Linked DNA regions of Homo sapiens: region 2 is linked to region 1. Evidence: promoter capture Hi-C in human tissues and cell types (Jung and others, 2019). All regions are on one chromosome and are shown on one strand. The core of a region is centred on a gene start or on the middle of the fragment in contact, and the rest is flanking DNA. Distances in the headings are between cores, read along the strand shown.

Evidence for each region. Contacts are between HindIII fragments. The study calls those that stand out against the background at their distance.
Region 2: a contact is called between a fragment that was not itself captured here and the fragment with the promoter of FOXC1 in region 1, in 2 of the 25 tissues and cell types used here (IMR-90 fibroblasts and aorta).

What each region holds. Positions count from the first base shown.
Region 1 is chr6:1,608,240-1,611,777 of GRCh38, forward strand. It overlaps FOXC1 (forkhead box C1), which reads left to right and starts at 1,676. Exons shown (of 1, transcript NM_001453.3): 1 at 1,676-3,538. The coding sequence starts at 2,207. RefSeq lists a silencer at 1,484-2,103 and an enhancer at 2,434-2,533. The HindIII fragment of the contact is 11,200 bases long and covers 1-3,538 here.
Region 2 is chr6:1,934,738-1,937,963 of GRCh38, forward strand. The region is part of intron 6 of GMDS (GDP-mannose 4,6-dehydratase); the gene reads right to left. Among named protein-coding and RNA genes, the nearest start is that of GMDS, 310 kb to the right of the region's middle. The HindIII fragment of the contact is 4,189 bases long and covers 1-3,226 here.

The DNA of each region.
Region 1 (3,538 bases), core at 426-2,925:
TAGAAGAGGCAGGTCCTCTTTCCTTCGATGTCAATGTCCATTATGAAACAGTAATTTTTAAATATTCAGGTGACACGGAGATGCGCCTGCTACACGTCAGCGTCCTTCACATGTAACAGCCGAAGCTGCAATTTGAATTTTCCTGCCAACGTGAGGAAGCCGGGATTCGAACCGGGGAGACAAAAGGGGTCCCGAACATGTCCTTGGATTTAATAGATGGTCGGAAATCAGGGGCAGCGGAGCTGTTAAATGCGTCACGCACGCTTCTTCGCAGTCTCCTGAGCTCGCCACTTCCCCCAGCTTCTAGTGAACGACTTGGGATTCAGCCTCCGGGAGGGTCTCTCCTCAAGTCGCTAAAATGCAGAATCGCCGTGCCGGGGGAGGGAGGCCTGGCTCTTTCCCGCTCCTTCGTTTCTTTCCCTCATTTCTCTTCTTCCTGTCCCATTCCAACCACCCAGCGACGGCGAATCTCAGGCGTGTGCACAACGAGCGGGGGCCCTTCCGTGCGTGTCCCCCCAGAATCCTTGAACCGCCCTCTAGGTGCGACCCTGGACGTTCCCCCAGACACACCCGTTGTCTCTGCGAGCCGGCAGCCCCGCGCATGTGGAGATGGAGACTGGCCTGGGGAAGCGTTAAGCTCTTAGACATATTTATTTGCTTCTTGTCATCACACCTGCTAATGTCACCGAGCCCGCAGCCTGACCCCTCATCTGAGCCGAAACGGGCCTGACGGGATCAGAGGGGGCGGCGGCGCGGCGAGCCGGTGGGACCCTCGCGGGCGGGCAGGGGAGCGCGGGGCAGCAGCCGGGCTCCGGCAGCCCTCGCCGCCCGCACCCTCAGGCCGCCAAGGGCCGGCCCCCCGGGGAGGGGGGCGAGAAGCAGGGCGGCCCGCAGCGGGGCGGGCTCATCCTTCGCGGGTGAACGGCCGTCGGAAACTCCCAGCAGGGCCCCGCACCCCTTGCCTTCATTTCGGCTGGGGAGGGGTCATGGAGGGGGGCCAGATGGGCGACGAACCTTCTTCCCCACCGCGAGCAGGGCCTGGCTGTGACCGAGCCCTCAAAATCATGTCCTTTGTAGCCGAGTTCAGGACAGGAGAACCTCCAAGTGGAGAAAAGCCGGAGACGTCAGTGACCCGAGTGAGACTGGCGTTGGAGAAGGGAGGGAAGGGGCTGCGGGAGGGGAGAGGCGGCGGGGAGGAGAGGCTGGGGCAACCCCAGCGCTGGCGTCGGCGGGGCTGGCGAAGGAATGAGAGCGAGCCAGCACGAGGCGGGGCGGAGACGCCAGGGCCACTCGGGAGCCGTGGGCGAAGGAAGGGTCTGCACGGGGTCCCGGGAGGACCCAGGAAGTCTGCGCGAACGGCGGGCGTGGGTCCGGAGGGCCCGGGGTGGGAGGTCTGCCGGGCGCCGGCGGCAGGCAGGTGGACTGCGGGGGGCGAACCGACGGCGGGCCGGGCGCCGGCGCGGGCGCAGGGCCGGGGCCCGGGCCAGGGCGGCCGGCGCGCGTGTGGTCAGCCCCGCGGTCCTCCGGCCTCCGGGAGCGGGCCGGCAGGGCTCGGCCTCCGGCTCATTCGGAGGCGGTTCTCACCTCCCATTGGCTGCCGCCGCTGGCGGGGCGGGGCTCCGCTGCCCGGAAAAAAGTGTAACTGCGTAAAAAAGTCCTCGCCTGGGTGACGGATGCTCAAAAGTTCAGAAGTTTTCCCAATGCTTCCTTAAGCGGCTGGCGCGCGAGAGACCGAGAAAAGGTGACGCGGGGCCCGGGCAGGCGGCCGGCGCGCGGCCCCCCCCCCCCCCGCCCTGGTTATTTGGCCGCCTTCGCCGGCAGCTCAGGGCAGAGTCTCCTGGAAGGCGCAGGCAGTGTGGCGAGAAGGGCGCCTGCTTGTTCTTTCTTTTTGTCTGCTTTCCCCCGTTTGCGCCTGGAAGCTGCGCCGCGAGTTCCTGCAAGGCGGTCTGCCGCGGCCGGGCCCGGCCTTCTCCCCTCGCAGCGACCCCGCCTCGCGGCCGCGCGGGCCCCGAGGTAGCCCGAGGCGCCGGAGGAGCCAGCCCCAGCGAGCGCCGGGAGAGGCGGCAGCGCAGCCGGACGCACAGCGCAGCGGGCCGGCACCAGCTCGGCCGGGCCCGGACTCGGACTCGGCGGCCGGCGCGGCGCGGCCCGGCCCGAGCGAGGGTGGGGGGCGGCGGGCGGCGCGGGGCGGCGGCGAGCGGGGGCCATGCAGGCGCGCTACTCCGTGTCCAGCCCCAACTCCCTGGGAGTGGTGCCCTACCTCGGCGGCGAGCAGAGCTACTACCGCGCGGCGGCCGCGGCGGCCGGGGGCGGCTACACCGCCATGCCGGCCCCCATGAGCGTGTACTCGCACCCTGCGCACGCCGAGCAGTACCCGGGCGGCATGGCCCGCGCCTACGGGCCCTACACGCCGCAGCCGCAGCCCAAGGACATGGTGAAGCCGCCCTATAGCTACATCGCGCTCATCACCATGGCCATCCAGAACGCCCCGGACAAGAAGATCACCCTGAACGGCATCTACCAGTTCATCATGGACCGCTTCCCCTTCTACCGGGACAACAAGCAGGGCTGGCAGAACAGCATCCGCCACAACCTCTCGCTCAACGAGTGCTTCGTCAAGGTGCCGCGCGACGACAAGAAGCCGGGCAAGGGCAGCTACTGGACGCTGGACCCGGACTCCTACAACATGTTCGAGAACGGCAGCTTCCTGCGGCGGCGGCGGCGCTTCAAGAAGAAGGACGCGGTGAAGGACAAGGAGGAGAAGGACAGGCTGCACCTCAAGGAGCCGCCCCCGCCCGGCCGCCAGCCCCCGCCCGCGCCGCCGGAGCAGGCCGACGGCAACGCGCCCGGTCCGCAGCCGCCGCCCGTGCGCATCCAGGACATCAAGACCGAGAACGGTACGTGCCCCTCGCCGCCCCAGCCCCTGTCCCCGGCCGCCGCCCTGGGCAGCGGCAGCGCCGCCGCGGTGCCCAAGATCGAGAGCCCCGACAGCAGCAGCAGCAGCCTGTCCAGCGGGAGCAGCCCCCCGGGCAGCCTGCCGTCGGCGCGGCCGCTCAGCCTGGACGGTGCGGATTCCGCGCCGCCGCCGCCCGCGCCCTCCGCCCCGCCGCCGCACCATAGCCAGGGCTTCAGCGTGGACAACATCATGACGTCGCTGCGGGGGTCGCCGCAGAGCGCGGCCGCGGAGCTCAGCTCCGGCCTTCTGGCCTCGGCGGCCGCGTCCTCGCGCGCGGGGATCGCACCCCCGCTGGCGCTCGGCGCCTACTCGCCCGGCCAGAGCTCCCTCTACAGCTCCCCCTGCAGCCAGACCTCCAGCGCGGGCAGCTCGGGCGGCGGCGGCGGCGGCGCGGGGGCCGCGGGGGGCGCGGGCGGCGCCGGGACCTACCACTGCAACCTGCAAGCCATGAGCCTGTACGCGGCCGGCGAGCGCGGGGGCCACTTGCAGGGCGCGCCCGGGGGCGCGGGCGGCTCGGCCGTGGACGACCCCCTGCCCGACTACTCTCTGCCTCCGGTCACCAGCAGCAGCTCGTCGTCCCTG
Region 2 (3,226 bases), core at 727-3,226, 330 kb after region 1:
TAAAATGATTTTTTTTTTAAATTTGCTCTCCTCATTTTTACTCCATGTTACAGAAGAATGCTCTTTTAAGGAAGAAACTATATAAAAGCATAGAACATGAGGGCTGAGACTATCCCAAGTGAGAGGTGAAGAAAGAGAAACGCACAGAGGCTGCACACCTGTCCTGAGTCAGGACAAGTAGCCGAGCCGGACCCAGGCCTGTCTCACTGGCTTTCTAGCCTTGTGCTGTTTTGCTAAGCCACAGTGCAATGCAGGAGGAATCTCTTCTGCGATGAGATGACCTAAGTGTTTGTGAATTATTATAGCACATGTGGATAATGGAACCCCTATAATTAACTTAAATACATACTTGATTTATAAAGCCTTAAACTATAAGATTCTCGTTAGAAAGAGGACTAAGAAAAGTTAGCTCAATGAATGGAGGGAAAGCCAGCTCTGTTAGTAACCAGCTGTGATATCTTACACAAACCATTTAACCACTCTGAAGTCATAGTCTCCTCTGTGTACTACTTGCATATTAACATTTGCCATGCCAAATCACTGGGTACACTAATGTAGGTTAAATGGCATTTCTTACAGAAATGTAAGAACATCACTATGTCCTTGTTTGTAAAATAAGGATAGTAATAGTACCTAAAAGCTTTGATGTTTAAAGGAGAAAATCTAGGTTTTCTGGTTATCAGTAAGTACTCAGTAACTGTTAGACATTATTATAATGATTACATTACAATGTTAATGGTATCTACAATTAAGTCTCAATGGAAAGTTAAGATTTCTTAGTTCTTTTATTAATAGATGACTACATCTCTTAATTCTCTGATTTTGAAAGTCTGAGATTGAGGAAAAATCAAAATAAACAGCCAGGCATGTGGGCCTACACAGGAAGCAATAATAAACATTTCTTGAATGACTTTGGCTTTCAATATTAACTCATTAACCTAGGAAAGAGAGTATGCAAGTAAAAGTATATCCATAAGACCGAGAACAACTAATAAGGTTTTTAGCCTAAACACTCGTTGGATTGAGATAATGAGTTTTGCCAGCATTGATAGAATGAGAACAGAACTTCTGTTCACGCAATGCAGTAGACAACAAAAACTGCCACATTAAAAACCAGTATATGCTGGGTAAAATATTACTATTCCTATTTTGTTAAATACAAAGCTGAGCCTCAAAGAAATGAAAGAAAATCCCCAGGTGAAGGGGGATCTCCAGAGCACAGATCATGGGTGGGCACTGAGGAGTCTGGGCTGGAAGTGAAAATGGAAGGCCATCTCATGCCCTGGAAACAGGTTCAGCTTTAATATCTATCTGTGACAAAGGACAAAATTTTCAGGGTAGATTACTAGAACCGTGTCTAACACACTATGTTAGTTATGCATAATTCTGCTTGCTACTTTTGTCAGTGCTATTATCTTAAGCAAGTGTTTTAATTTCTCAGTTCTCTTACCAATAAAATGGGATCACAATCCACACTAAGAATAAAATATCATGCTACAGGAAGCAGTGAAGCAAGGCTCAATGTGAGCAGTGGCAAGAGGGCCAGCAGGCCTGCATGGACCCTAAGGCAGTCGCTGAAATGGTGCATTGAGACTTGAAGGCTAAGACTACTTAAGAGTAAAGCTCACTCCTTCCATGAACCTAGGGAAAGTGAAGCCTGTGAATTTTACCAGCAGCAGACACCAGGCACAGCCAGAAGTGGGACTAATCCCACCTCCTCTGTGGCCACAAGGCAAGGGAATAATAGCTCAGACCAGCAAGTCATCAGCTGAGACCAGGAGGCATTCAGAATGTACCACAAACACCTGAAGACACCACCTGCCCCTTTTCCAACACTAGGTCAAATAAGCCACATCTACGTCCCATATAGCACCACACGCCACACCACAACGTTTAGGTCAAGCATGGACCGCTTATATGACAATGGTCCCGTAAGATTACAATAGAGGCCAGGCACAGTGGCTCACGCCTGTAATCCCAACACTTTGGGAGGCTGAGGTGGGCAGATCAACTGAGGTCAGGAGTTTGAGACCAGCCTGGCCAACGTGGTAAAACCTCATCTCTACTAAAAATACAAAAATTAGCCAGGTGTGGTGGTGCGAGCATATAATCCTAGCTACTCAGGAGGCTGAGGCACGAAAATCATTTGAACCTGGGAGGTGGAGGTTGCAGTGAGCTGAGATCACCCCACTGCAATCCAGCCTGAATGACAGAGTGAGACTCTGTCTCAAAAAAAAAAAAAAAAAAATTACAATAGAGCTGCCCAATACAGGCATATCTTTTGTCCTTTATATGGTATTTTTACTTTACCTTTTCTATGTTTAGATACACCAATACACATTGTGTTGCAACTGCCTACAGTGTTCAGTAATCTGCTGTCCCAGTTTGTAGCCTAGCAGCGATAGGTGTGCAGGAAGATATACCATCCAGGCTTGTGGAACACTCTACGTCTACAACCGTCACACAATGACACTGCCTAATGATGCATTTCTCAGAACAAATCCCTGTGGTTCCGTGACGCATGACTGTAGGTAGATGCCATCCTGAACAGAAACAAGAAAAGAAAGCACGCCTAGAAAAAAGCTTCAACATTCTGTTACATTAATAGCAGACACTGAACTTTCTTTTAAATTTTAATTTGCTGTTTTTGAAAAACAAGTATAAATTAACTGTTAAGGACTATATTAGTTCCTAGGGCTGCCATAACAAACTCCCACACACTGGGTGGCTTCGAACAACCAAAATTTCCTGTCTCACAGCTCTGGAGGCTTGAAGGTTAATATCCAACAGGGCCATGCTCCTTCGAGAATATCTACAGGAGAACCCTGATGCTGTCTCAGCATGTGATGGCATTCCTTGGCTTGTGGTCCAATCTCTGCCCCCATATTCACACCATATGAATAGTGCTTTCTCCAATGTGTGTCTATGTCTCTGGCTCTTCTTTTTATTATGTGGACACTTGTCATTAGATTTAGGGCCCACCTTGGTAATCCAGGATGATCCCTTCATCTCAAGATCCTTAACTAATTATAACTGCAAAGACCTCATTTCCAAATAAGGTCACATCAACAGGTTCAGATATTAGGATGTGGACATATCTTTCTGGGGGCTACCACCCAACCCACTATAAGAACGAAGGTTTAGAATATTTGAGGCTAGGTGCGGTGGCTCATGCCTATAATCCCAGCACATTGGGAGGTGGGAGGATCACTTCAGACGAGGAGTT